2 separate regions of the Homo sapiens genome follow, and region 1 is linked to region 2. Evidence: promoter capture Hi-C in 16 types of primary human blood cells and fetal thymus (Javierre and others, 2016). All regions are on one chromosome and are shown on one strand. Each heading gives the region's core, a stretch centred on a gene start or on the middle of the fragment in contact. The rest is flanking DNA. Distances are from core to core; before and after follow the strand shown. Region 1 has its middle 70 kb from the start of GPR6. Region 2 holds the start of ZBTB24 (zinc finger and BTB domain containing 24).

Region 1 (6,182 bases), core at 2,884-5,383, 560 kb before region 2:
TGGGAGACCCAGGCTCTTTCATCTCATTCCACAGCCATCCCCAACATGTGGGTTCCATCTGATTGTCTAAGCAGCAACGACTCCACTTACCATGTCTGCATTCTAGCCAAGGGAGAAGGGGAAGAGAAGGGGAAGCTGTCTCTTTCTCTTCGAAGGCACCATTTGGAAGCCATTTACCTCATTTCTTCTTACATGGCAGTAGTCAGAACTAATTGACTGTACCTTGCTGCAAGGAAGGCTGGGAATATGTTATTAGTGTCCTGAAGTTGTATTCTTTTACAAGATAGAGAGAATGAATAGTCGAGTATATCTAGCATTTGTTTCCACAGGAAATATTTACTAGAGGTGAGGCATATAGAGGATCAGATGAACGAGGCTGATAGGAGTGTACCGGTCCCTGCTGCAGAGTTAGAGGTGTGGGACCTAATCAGGCTCCGGTCCCTGCTGCAGAGTTAGAGGAGTGGGACCTAGTCAGGCTGCTTGAGTCTGGATGCCGGTTGCACTGTTCATGTGTGTGTATGATTTTAACCACAAGTTACTTTATCTGTAAAACTGGGATAATAACACTTTATTTGGATGCCATGAGTATTAAATGAGATAATCCATCTAAATGTTTCCTGTTCTTTTTGGCTTAATCTGGATTCCCTGGAAAACAGAATCTGAGGCAAAGTTGAAGTAGTAATGCTTTTTAATGAAGTGCAATAGTAGGGCAGCCAGTGTGAGGCAGGGAAGGATGGGAAGCAAATGCCGGGCCCCGCTGCTGACCTGGCCAAGGCTTCACGAAGACACAGCCTGTCAGATGGCCCCAGGAGATGCCTTTTGGACAGGCCAGAGGAAGGAATAGCAGGCGACTTGATCTGCAGAATCCCTCCTGACTCCTATCCCCAACAGATCAAGGTTCATCCCCTGTGGAGTTTCATATCCCACACTTTGGGGTTGCATCACCTGGCCCTTTTAGAAACTGCTGAGGAATCCATCCCCCGTGCATTGTGGTGTGGCTCTTCTTCCAAGTCTGGGAGGGGCGCATGGAGTCTCAGCTCTGGCTGCTGGTCAGTGACTCCATGCCCTACTGTGGAATCATCTGGCAGAGTCAGTTGATGCAGGGGCTGCAGACGTTACATGGATAATGGAGGGTGGAAGGATTTAGAGCTTAAATAGTCTAAGGCAGCTCATAAGATGTATCGAGTCCATTATTATTATGTGTTGGAAAGAACAGCAGCTTTGACATTAGACAGCACTACCATTCTCTAGCTATGACACCTTAGGTTTAATGTACTCTCACTGAGACTTGGTTTTCTCACATATAAAGATGTGGTGACCACACCGGCTTGACAAGCTATTATGAGGATTAAATAATGCAATTGATGTGAAAGGACCTGGTGCTATGCCTGGTAAACAGCAGCTTCCTGCCTGGTTTCCCATTCTGCGGTCGGGGGAACCAGATCCTCCTTCCCCTGCCAGTGTTTGGTATGTGCAATTGACATGTATCTCATGCATCTTTTGATATTCTGTAAAGAGCCATGCAAACAGGATTTTAAGACAAGTATCCTATCCCTTTCCAACAAGATAGCCACTCCTAGAATATTTCTATGTTCAAATTCTAGAACCGAGATGATCACCCTGGGAAAGGTAGGAAGCTCCTGGCTGCTGTTCAGGAGAGCTTCTCCAATTCCAAAGCAGATCTTGGCAACCCACCCCTCCCCCACTGCGCCTCCCTGGAGCTACTTGAGGGCAGGCAACACGTTTACCTGATTCACTGCTATATCCTCAAAACCTAGCCCAGAAAATCAAGAGCAATAAAAAGAGTGAAATTTGTTTAGTATTTTATGATGTGCTAAGTACCATTCTAAGCATGTTTGTGACTCTACTTTAAGTCTTATAACAACCCGGCAAGAAAAGAATTAATGTTAATGCCATTATGCTCCAAGCAAGGTCACCAGGCCATCTTCACCAGAATCACCTGAAGGCTTCTCAGAATGCAGATTTCCAGAGTCTACCCCAGATCTGAAACAGGACCTCTGGGGTAGAGCCAAGAAGCTGCATTTTTAACAAGGTGTCCAACTGCCTCTTCTTACCCAGAAGCTCTGAAGTCTAACCCCGACTCAACTTCCTTTTGAGATCCCAACTGACCCATCCTACAGTGATGTGCATTATTCGTCTCCAAGTGAGAATATTTCCTTTAACCATTAACCCTCTGCTACATATAGAGAAGTTGAGTGATTTGCCCTATGATGTGGGGTTAATACCAAACAGACAGGCAGTCACAGCTCTAGAACCCAGACAGCAATTCTTTCTAACACATAATAATGTATTAGATACATCTATGAGATTCCCCAGATTCTTTAAGTTCTAAGACTTCTGGCCCAAAGTAAGCTTGAGTAGGGAGTCATCCAAGCTAGATTCAGAAAGGTTTAGATACTTGAGTTGCTGTTGTGTTGTTAGATCTCTACAGCAACTAATGACTATCTATCCAGGCACCAGTGCAGCCACGGGGTGGATTCCCGCATTCCTACTTCATGAGCCTGACACTAAGCCCCCTGGAGGAAGGAATAGAGGGTGACTTGATCTGCAGAATCCCTCCTGACTCCTATCCTCAACAGATCAGAGTTCATCCCCTGTGGAGTTTCATATACCACACTTTGGGGTTCCATCACCTGGCCCTTTTAGAAACTGCTGAGGAATTCATCCCCCATGCATTGTGGTGTGGCTCTTCTTCCAAGTCTGAGAGGGGTGCATGGAGTCATCAGCTCTGGCTTCTGGTCAATGACTCCATGCCCTACTGTGGAATCATCCGGCAGAGTCAGTTGATGCAGGGGCTACAGAAGTTACATGGATAATGGAGTATTAAGTGTATTAAGTAGTATTAACTCACATGATCACAAGGCCCCGCAGTAGGCTGTCTGCAAGCTGAGGATCAAAGAAGCCAGTCTGAGTCCCAAAGCTGAAGAACTTGGAATCCCATGTTTGAGGGCAGGAAGCAACCAGCATGGGAGAAAGATGTAGTCTGGGAGGCTAGGACCGTCTAGGCTTTTCACGTTTTTCTGCTTGCTTTATATTTTGGCTGCACTGGCTGCTGATTAGATGGTGCCCACCCAGATTAAGGGTGGGTCTGCCTGTCCCAGCCCATTGACTCAAATGTTAATCTCCTTTGGCAACACCTTCACAGACACACCCAGGATCAATAATTTGCATCCTTTAATCCAATCAAGTTGACACTAAATATTAACCATCACACTCCAGTAGCTGCTCTACAGAAGCCGAAGAGCCTCCTGAGGTAGAGAGTGAGGGACCTGGGATTCCTGTACTCCACAAAAGGATACTTCTAGTCCAAGGGACTTGCTCTTGGCTCCTCTGGGCACAGGGTTAGACCTCAGAATTTCAGGGTAAGGATGGCATCTGGGCACTTTGGTAAAATTCAGAGGGGAGACCCTGGAAATCTGCATCTTAAAAAGCCCCAGGTGATTTTGGAAAAGGTGCCCTGGTGGCCTCATGTGGAGAATCCTGGGTGTACCAGCTGCAGCTACTCTTGTACCTTTCACTATCATCTGGACCTGGGCTCCAAGGCCTTGCTACCAGAAGAGACAGGGGATTTTTAAAGGCATAAACATGTATTTCTTTCTTCCAATATATTTTTTTTTACTATAAGTTTTAGGGTACATGTGCACAACATGCAGGTTAGTTATATATGTATACATGTGCCATGTTGGTGTGCTGCACCCATTAACTTGTCATTTAACATTAGGTATATCTCCTAATGCTATCCCTCCCCACTCCCCCCACCTCACAACAGGGCCCAGTGTGTGATGCTCCCCTTCCTGTGTCCATGTGTTCTCATTGTTCAATTCCCACCTATGGGTGAGAACATGTGGTGTTTGGTTTTTTGTCCTTGCAATAGTTTGCTGAGAATGATGGTTTCCAGCTTCATCCATGTCCCTACAAAGGACATGAGCTCATCATTTTTTATGGCTGCATAGTATTCCATGGTCTATATGTGCCACATTTTCTTAATTCAGTGTATCATTGTTGGACATTTGGGTTGGTTCCAAGTCTTTGCTATTGTGAATAGTGCCGCTATAAACATACGTGTACATGTGTCTTTATAGCAGCATGATTTATAATCCTTTGGGTATATGCCCAGTAATGGGATTGCTGGGTCAAATGGTATTTCTAGTTCAAGATCCCTGAGGAATTGCCACACCGACTTCCACAATGGTTAGACTAGTTTACACTCCCACCAACAGTGTAAAAGTGTTCCTATTTCTCCACATCCTCTCCAGCACCTGTTGTTTCCTGACTTTTTAATGATCAGTATTCTAACTGGTGTGAGATGGTATCTCACTGTGGTTTTGATTTGCATTTCTCTGATGGCCAGTGATGATGAGCATTTTTTCATGTGTCTTTTGGCTGCATAAATGTCTTCTTTTGAGAAGTGTCTGTTCATATCCTTTGTCCACTTTGTGATGGGGTTATTTGTTTTTATCTTGTAAATTTGTTTGAGTTCATTGTCGATTCTGGATATTAGCCCTTTGTCAGATGAGTAGATTGCAAAAATTTTCTCTCACTCTGTAGGTTGCCTGTTCGCTCTGATGGTAGTTTCTTTTGCTATGCAGAAGCTCTTTGGTTTCATTAGATCCCATTTGTCAATTTTGGCTTTTGTTGCCATTGCTTTTGGTGTTTTAGACATGAAGTCCTTGCCCATGCCTATGTCCTGAATGGTATTGCCTAGGTTTTCTTCTAGGGTTTTTATGGTTTTAGGTCTAACCTTTAAGTCTTTAATCCATCTTGAATTAATTTTTGTATAAGGTGTAAGGAAGGGATCCAGTTTCAGCTTTCTACATATGGCTAGCCAGTTTTCCCAGCACCATTTATTAAATAGGGAATCGTTTCCCCATTTCTTGTTTTTGTCAGGTTTGTCGAAGATCAGATGGTTGTAGATATGCGGCATTATTTCTGAGGGCTCTATTCTGTTCCATTGGTCTATATCTCTATTTTGGTACCAGTACCATGCTGTTTTGGTTACTGTAGCCTTGTAGTATAGTTTGAAGTCTGAATCTTCCAATAATTTTTAAGAGTAGTTACTAAATAATGTAGTGAACATTTAAAGAAATAAACAGAGGGCAGGGTGAGACATTTGTCATGTTCAGCCTTCCTTGGGGACCTTGTCGTGGCTCAGGAGGCACAATGGGAACCGGGAGAACCCTGTCAAAATCCCAGCCTCAGCCACCACCAGTGCATGCTCCCAGCTGTCCTCCTAATAGACACAAGCATGTTGTTGACTTGATTTTTTTGGTTGATGCCTCATTTCCCCAAATATAAAATAATTTGAAAAGAAAGGAAGAAAATGAAAGTCAAGGAAAAATGGCTGCCAAAGCAGACTCAAAATTAAAACCATTCATACCTTTCCTGAGGCTTGGGTGAGCCGGTGGAGAGATTTGTTCCGGAGATATGAGTCTTCCCCTCCTCTAATTGAGGTCAGGGGAAGTTTCTGTCCTCCCATATATCCCTGCAGTGGGACAGGATTCCCCATGACCACCAGAGACCCCCCAGCCCCACCTTACCAGAAACAATGACAAAGTTCGCTTGACATTGGATCTCTCCTTCCTTTTGAGGTCCGAACTACCAAATTGCAGAAATTAGTGTGCATTATTCATCTGCAAGTGAGAATGTTTCCTTTAACCGTGTTAAAGGAAATGAAAGGTTCTATTACTTATGAACCCAGCGCTTGTCAGTGCTAAATTGCCTTTCTTATATATAAAAGCTCTCTGGGATTGCAGAAGGCAGAATGCCATTGCTGTTGTTAGTTACATGGTTGACTTCTTTCTGATGGGTCTAAATTGTTACCTTAGTGACTTCCTGCCATGCTGCATCCAAGTTTTGTGGGGCCTGAAGCTTATATAATTTTGGAGGCTTTCTTAAAACAAAAATACACATTAAAATTCTAGGTATAAAAGCATTTATTTAGAATGAGAAAAGAAGTCACAATGAATCAGAAATTCCACAAATATCAAATTCAAACAACATACTATTTTTATTAATTAACTCTTTGAAACACCCTTATAACACTATATTAACACTTTATTCCCTTCATTCATTCCCCATCTTTTTTTTTTCTTCCATACTCTTCAATCGCCTCTTCACATGACAACTTTGTGATTCCTTTTTTTTTTTTACGGAGAGAAGAG
Region 2 (6,956 bases), core at 2,885-5,384:
TCCAGTGGCCTCCTATTTCAGTTAAAATCGAAACTCCTTTTTCTTGGCATAAAAGACTTTACATGATCTGGCTCTTCTTGCCTTTAACATTCTCTCCATCCTTCTCTTTCTCTCTCTCTTTTTTTTTATTATTTTTTTTTATTTTTTATTTTTGGAGACAGAGCCTTGCTCTGTCGCCCAGCCTGGAGTGCAGTGGCATGATCTCAACTGACTGCAACCTCCGCCTCCCGGGTTCAAGAGATTCTCGTGCCTCATCTTCCTAAGTAGCTGTGCCACCACGCCCGGCTAATTTTTGTATTTTTAGTAGAGACGGGGTTTTGCCATGTTGGCCATGCTGGTCTTGAACTCCTGGCCTCAAGTGATCCGCCCACCTTGGCCTCCCAAAGTGCTGGGATTACAGGCATGAGCCACTGCACCCGACCTGGCATTGACCAATAACTTTGAAATGCCATTATCTCCTCTACAGTGTTTGAAGTATGCACTCTATTTGTACCAATTAAGTGGCTGTCCCTTACTCTTTCACCATGTATATGTAAAGCCTCAAGGTAATCAATAGCTGTACCCTTAAAACACTGGAATACTGATAACCAGCTTCCCATCTTAAATGGTATTTTCATTCAATATTTTAGATCTACTCTATTTGTTTACTCTCCGAATTAGACATTATTTTGCATAATCAATGTTTGTTTAGATTTCCTTCATACTTACTTTTTTCTCTTTTTTTTTTTTTTTTTGGCTTACAACTCCCTCTTATACCTCAGACTTTCCTCTTGGTGTTATTTTCCTTCCTATGGTATGGGTTTGTTGGAGGTTAATACTTTTATTTTTTGTTTGACCAAAATTGTCTTGATTTTGTCCTTTTCCATGATAATTGTAGTCTATAAAAAAGATTTTAGGTGAATTTTGAAAGTATCATGCCACTAACCTCTGGCTTCTACTATTGCTGTTGAGAAACCAGCTGTCATTTTAACTGGTTTTCTTTTATAGGTACAGTCATGCATTGCTTAATGACAGGGATATGTTCTGAGAAATGCATCACTAGGTGACTTCGTCACTGTGCAAACATCACAGAGTGAACTTACACAAACCTAGATGGTATAGTCTACTACACACCTAGGCTCTATGGTACAACCTATTGCTCCTGTGCTACCAACCTGTACAGAATGTTATTGTACTGAATACTGTAAGCAGCTGTAGCACAGTGGTATTTCTGTATCTAAACATATCAAAACATAAGAAAGACACTTAAAATACAGTATACTGATGGCTCATGCCTGTTATCCTAGCACTTTGGAAGGCCTAGGTGGGCAGAGCACTTGAGCCCAGGAGTTCAAGACCAGCCTGGGCCACATGGCAAAACCTCATCACTACAAAAAATACGGAAAAAAAAAAATAGTGGAGTGTGGTAGCATATGTCTGCAGTCCCAACTACTCAGAAGGCTAAGTGGGGAGGATCACCTGAGACCAGGAGGTAGAAGTCACAGTGAGCTGAGATCATGTCACTGCACTCCAGCCTAGGCAACAGGGTGGGATTTTGTCTCAAAACAAAACAGTATAAAAGAAAAAAAAAGTACACCTGTGTAGGGCACTTACCATGAATGGAGCTTACAGGAATAGGAGTTGCTCTGGGTGAGTCAGTGAGTGAGTGGTGAGTGAATGTGAAGGCCTAAGACATGGCTATACACTACTGTAGACGTTATAAACATTGTACGCTCTAAGCTACACTAAATTTATATGAAAAAAAATTCTTTGTTGGCTGGGTATAGGTGGCTCATGCCTGTAATCCCAGCATGGGAGGCTGAGGCAGCATTTATTTTTTTAAATGGGTGTCCTGTGTCTTTATTTGTGAAATCTGGCAACTCTCCACTCCATCTGCTGCCCCTCACTCACTGTGCTCCAGCCACACAGTCCTTGCCGTTCATCAGATGCTCCTTCCCAGTCTGAGCCTTTATGCTTGCTTTTCCCTTGCCTAGAACATTTTTATTCCAGATCTTCCCACAGCTGTCTCCATGTCATTCAGATCTCAGCTCAAATGTCACCCTATCCTGATTTCACTTCCCTGTCAGTCTCCATCATCATTCTTTATAAAATTTAACACTTTCTGAAACTATTATTCATTAGTTTACTTGTATATTTGTCCTGTCTCCCCTTAGTAGAATGTAAGCTTCATGAGAGCAAAGGCCTTGTTAGTTGCTGTATCCCCAACACCTGACGCCAATGTCTGGCTCTTAGTAGACACTCGATAAATATCTGTTAGATGAATGTATGACACCCCAAATCCTGTTCTGCAAGATTTAAATTTAAGAAGACCTGTTAGGGGTAGACCGGCTGGCCTTAACAAGAACAAAAGTTTTGAAAAAGTCAGTATGGATCCAAAACAAAATTGCCTTGAAGAAAGGGCTAGTCTGTGTTGTGGGTGGCTGATGCTGGAAGATCCTCCAGACTCAGTCTTTCCTCGCAGGATTATGCTCCAGTGAGCAATGATTGAATGAGGAAATGGAAGTACCTGGCTTACCTTGGCACTGAGTCTTCTTATGCCGTTGAGGACCTCTGGAGGGACAGTGATTTGACTGCAACCCTCGTAGCAGCAAGAAACAATGAGGTAGCTAACTTCCTGCTGGTATGCAGAAGTCAGGGAGCGCTCCCCATCCCACTTGTACCCCCACAAATCCAGAGGACTTAGAGACAATTCAATATGAAAGGGAAACCTCAGAGAAGGAGCATGTGTGGCTTGAGCTAGTTTTAATAAAATCTAGTAAAAATGTAAGAGCCAGGTTGCTAATTACACCTCCGGTTCAAGATCAGGGAGGCTATAGATGGCATGTTGGGAATCTGGAAATGGGCAGAAAAATAAGTAATTAGGTATTGGCTAAGAGAGAGAAAATGCTGAAATAAATGGATGGAAGCAGGTGGGGAGTAGATCTGGATGGGGCTTGTAGACCACATTAAGAAGCCTGGACTTTATCCAGAGGGCATGTGGGAGCCACATGGATTCTAAGCCAAGGAGTGACTCTAGTCTCTGGATCTCATATGTACTTGGAGAAATCCTCTGTACTTCTGCGAATTAAAGAGAACAACGCTGCAGCTGAGACCAGTTAGAAACAGTCTATTGAACAAAGATGATGAAAGTTTGAATAATAATGATCATTTTAATCACAGCAGACGAATTAAACCAGGCATTTCCTAAGCCCATTACATACTTAATTTTGTTTATGCAATAGCAACCCTACCAAAGTGGCACTAGTGTTAACATCTCCATTTTACAGGTAAGGTAAAGAAGTTGTGAGGGTAAGTAATTTGCCCAAGATCTCTCAGAACCCAGGTTTCTCTGACTGCAGTGCTCTCTTCATTCCCTTAGACTAAGGCATCAGGAGTGGGGAGGAAAAGGAGGCAGATGTGAAAAACATTTAGGAGGTAAGTAATAGTTATTATATTAGCACTAGATAATGACGATGGTGATGATGATGACAATGATGATGACGGTAAGGGGGATTTCATGCCTTTATACATTCAAGAACAACACCAGATTCGGTGTCGGAGAAGAGATAAAATTAAGGTATTGGCGTTGAGCTAACAGTTTAATACGATATAAAACTTCCCAAAGGGAGGGGTCACAACGCCTCTCCTGTCCATTGCCCCCAATTCACCGCAAAAGTCGCTCCTGCCTGGGCTCCCCGGCAGTGCCACACGCAGGACCTCGGGCGCCGACACCGCCCCGCCCCTGGCCGCGCCCCGCCCCGGCCACTGTCCCTCCTCCGAAGCCGCGCCCCTCCCCGCCCTGCCCCGGCCCCGGCCCCGGCCCCGGCCCCAAAGCCCCGGGCCTGCCATCTCGCCCCGCCCTGCCCCGCCCCGCCGCGGCTCCCCCGACCCCAGGCCTGCATTCTCGCCCCGCCTTGCCCCTCCCCTCCCCTGCCACGCCCCAACCCTTGAACTGCCTTCGCGCCCCGCCTTGCCCTGCCTTGCCCCGCCTTGCCCCGCCCCGCCCCGCCCCGCCATCTCGCCCCGCCCCGCCCCTCACCTCCCTTCCCCTCCCCGCCGCTCTCGTGGCCCCCACCTCCAGGGGCGCCTCTGCGGGCCACGTGGTTCGGCGTCCGCGCGCAAGCGGCTCTTGGCGCCGCGCTTCCGGGTTGGCTGTGGCTGTGGCTGCGGCGGCGGCGCAGGAGCAGAAACCGGTGCGGCGCAGAAGCCCCAGAGGCGGGCGGGGCGGAGCGGAGGGCCAGCGGGCCCCGGCGTGGGTCTCCCGCCAGGCCGCCGGGTGAGTTGGCAGCGACCCGGACCCCACCGGGCGCCCCTGAGCGGTAGGTCTGCCGCGCCGACCCCTCCCCCGCCGTGTGCTCCCCAGTCGGGCCCGCGGGGCCTGGGCGGGGAGGTGGGGGTCTTTCCGCGCCACCTCTCCCTGCTGGGACCACCCGGGGCTGCGGGGGGCTCCGCGCCGCCCCTAGTGTGTCTGGCGGCCCCACGCAGCTTAAGTTATTAGTATTTTATTGCAGCTACCTCACATTCACTTTGCACGTGCACATTTCTTCACTCTTCACATTGGTTCCCACATACGAAATGGCTAATAATCTGGGAGATGGAGGCAGCTTCGTTCTCCCTGAAATAGTTGTGCAACCATAGAAAGTTCGTGCTTGCGGAGGATTTTGGAGATGGTTAATCCCATTCCTTCATTTTATAGAAGGTAGACCCTGAACCGTTCCATGAATACTGGAGAGTCACTCAGCTAGTTAATGTGCGGCAGGAGGCTGAGGGAGAGAATTGCTTGAACCTGGGAGGCGGAGGTTGCAGTGAGCCGAGATTGCGCCACTGCACTCCAGCCTGGGCGATAGAGCGAGACTCCGTCTCAAAAAAAAAAAACCGCGAGCTAAGTTGTTTTGTTTTTGTTTTTTGAGGTGGTGGTCTCGTTCTGTCGCCCAGGCTGGAGTGCAGTGGCACGATCACGGCTCACGGCAACCTCGAACTCCCAGGCTCAGGTGATGCTCCTGCCGCAGCCTCCTGAGTAGCTGGGACCACAGGCGGGCGCCACCACGCCAGGCTAATTTTTGTATTTTTTGTATAGATGAATTCTCTCCATGTTGCCCAGGCTGGTCTCAAGTGATCCGTCGGCCTCGGCCTCCCAAAGTGCTGGGATTACAGGCGTGAGGCCACTGCGCCCGGGCCCAGAGCTAAGTTTGTAGACAGACAAAAATGGTAATGGTAAAATTCAGTTAATGATGTGAAGTGAATAGGAAGTTCATGTGGGCTGGCATTAACCTTTTAGACAGTGCTTTCTCCTTTTTAAACCTTGTTTTCTTATTTCAGATTTAACCCTTAGTGGCTTCTGAAGAAAATGGCAGAAACATCGCCAGAGCCTTCTGGGCAGCTTGTTGTACACTCAGACGCTCACAGTGACACTGTGCTGGCCAGTTTTGAGGATCAGAGGAAGAAAGGCTTCCTCTGTGACATTACTTTAATCGTGGAGAATGTACATTTCCGGGCCCACAAAGCCTTACTTGCTGCCAGTAGTGAATACTTCTCAATGATGTTTGCAGAAGAGGGGGAAATCGGCCAATCCATTTATATGCTGGAAGGCATGGTTGCAGACACCTTTGGTATCCTGCTGGAATTTATCTACACAGGTTATCTCCATGCCAGTGAGAAAAGTACAGAACAAATCCTGGCTACTGCTCAGTTCTTAAAAGTCTATGACCTGGTAAAGGCTTACACAGACTTCCAAAATAATCATAGCTCCCCAAAGCCAACAACTTTGAACACTGCTGGTGCCCCAGTGGTTGTTATCTCTAATAAGAAAAACGATCCTCCAAAGCGGAAACGGGGAAGACCAAAAAAAGTCAATACATTGCAGGAGGAGAAATCAGAACTGGCTGCAGAGGAAGAAATACAGTTAAGAGTGAACAATTCAGTTCAGAATAGACAAAACTTTGTGGTTAAAGGAGACAGTGGTGTACTGAATGAGCAAATTGCAGCAAAAGAAAAGGAAGAATCGGAGCCTACTTGTGAGCCAAGTAGAGAGGAGGAAATGCCAGTTGAAAAAGATGAGAACTATGATCCCAAGACCGAGGATGGCCAGGCAAGCCAGAGTCGATACAGCAAGCGGAGGATTTGGAGATCCGTCAAACTTAAAGATTACAAACTTGTTGGGGATCAAGAGGACCATGGTTCAGCCAAGAGGATCTGTGGAAGGAGAAAGCGCCCTGGAGGCCCTGAGGCCCGCTGTAAAGACTGTGGCAAGGTCTTTAAGTACAATCACTTTTTAGCAATCCACCAGAGGAGCCACACAGGTAATGATGTTTTCAAAGCTGATTGCAGTGTGTTGCAGAATTGGGAGTAGTGATGATAATAATAGCTTCCATTTACTGTGCAACTTCTGTGTGATGGGCATTGTAATAAAGCCTTTATACATGTTATTGCAGTTAATTTTCTCCACAATCCTGCAAGGTGGGTAATATCCTCATTATACATTGTATGATTAAAATCATATTTACTCATATGTAAGAGAGGGTTGCTAAAGTGCATAGTTTACAGATGAAGCAACCAAGTTCTAGGGAGCTTAAATAACTTGCCAGAGTCACCCGTTAGTGACAGAGCTGGGATTGAACCCAGGTAGCCTGGTTCAAGAACCCCTCTCATTTGTAGTTGTTGAATGAATCCTTTAATGTCCACTTATCAAGATCTAGCCCAATGTACCCTGCTTTCTGATTCTTGAACATTCTTCATCTTGACCATAACCATGCTTTTGCCCAAGTCTGTGTAGATCACTTTGTAACTCAGCTATCTAGCTTTAAATACCTTCTCATTTTTGGTCCCTCTAGCCCAGCGCTGACCAATGGGACCCTTCTGTGATGATGGAAATGTTCCTACATCTCTGATGTCCAATATGGTGGCCAGTAACCACATGTGGTTTTTGAGCACTTGAACTGTGGCTAGCGTGACTGAGAAACTGAATTTTAAATTTTATT

Evidence for each region. Contacts are between HindIII fragments. The CHiCAGO score rates a contact against its expected background, and 5 or more counts as called.
Region 1: a fragment that was not itself captured here is called in contact with the fragment with the promoter of ZBTB24 in region 2 in 1 of 17 cell types (neutrophils); the score reaches 7.1 in neutrophils.

Annotation. Positions count from the first base shown.
Region 1 is chr6:110,045,006-110,051,187 of GRCh38, reverse strand. No RefSeq gene overlaps it. Among named protein-coding and RNA genes, the nearest start is that of GPR6, 70 kb to the right of the region's middle. The HindIII fragment of the contact is 3,516 bases long and covers 2,376-5,891 here.
Region 2 is chr6:109,480,397-109,487,352 of GRCh38, reverse strand. ZBTB24 (zinc finger and BTB domain containing 24) reads left to right here and starts at 4,134. Exons shown (of 7, transcript NM_014797.3): 1 at 4,134-4,255; 2 at 5,299-6,278. The coding sequence starts at 5,327. ZBTB24-DT (ZBTB24 divergent transcript) reads right to left here and starts at 3,709. Exons shown (of 4, transcript NR_187591.1): 1 at 2,516-3,709. RefSeq lists silencers at 3,634-4,073, 4,154-4,443 and an enhancer at 6,142-6,643. The HindIII fragment of the contact is 11,956 bases long and covers 2,167-6,956 here.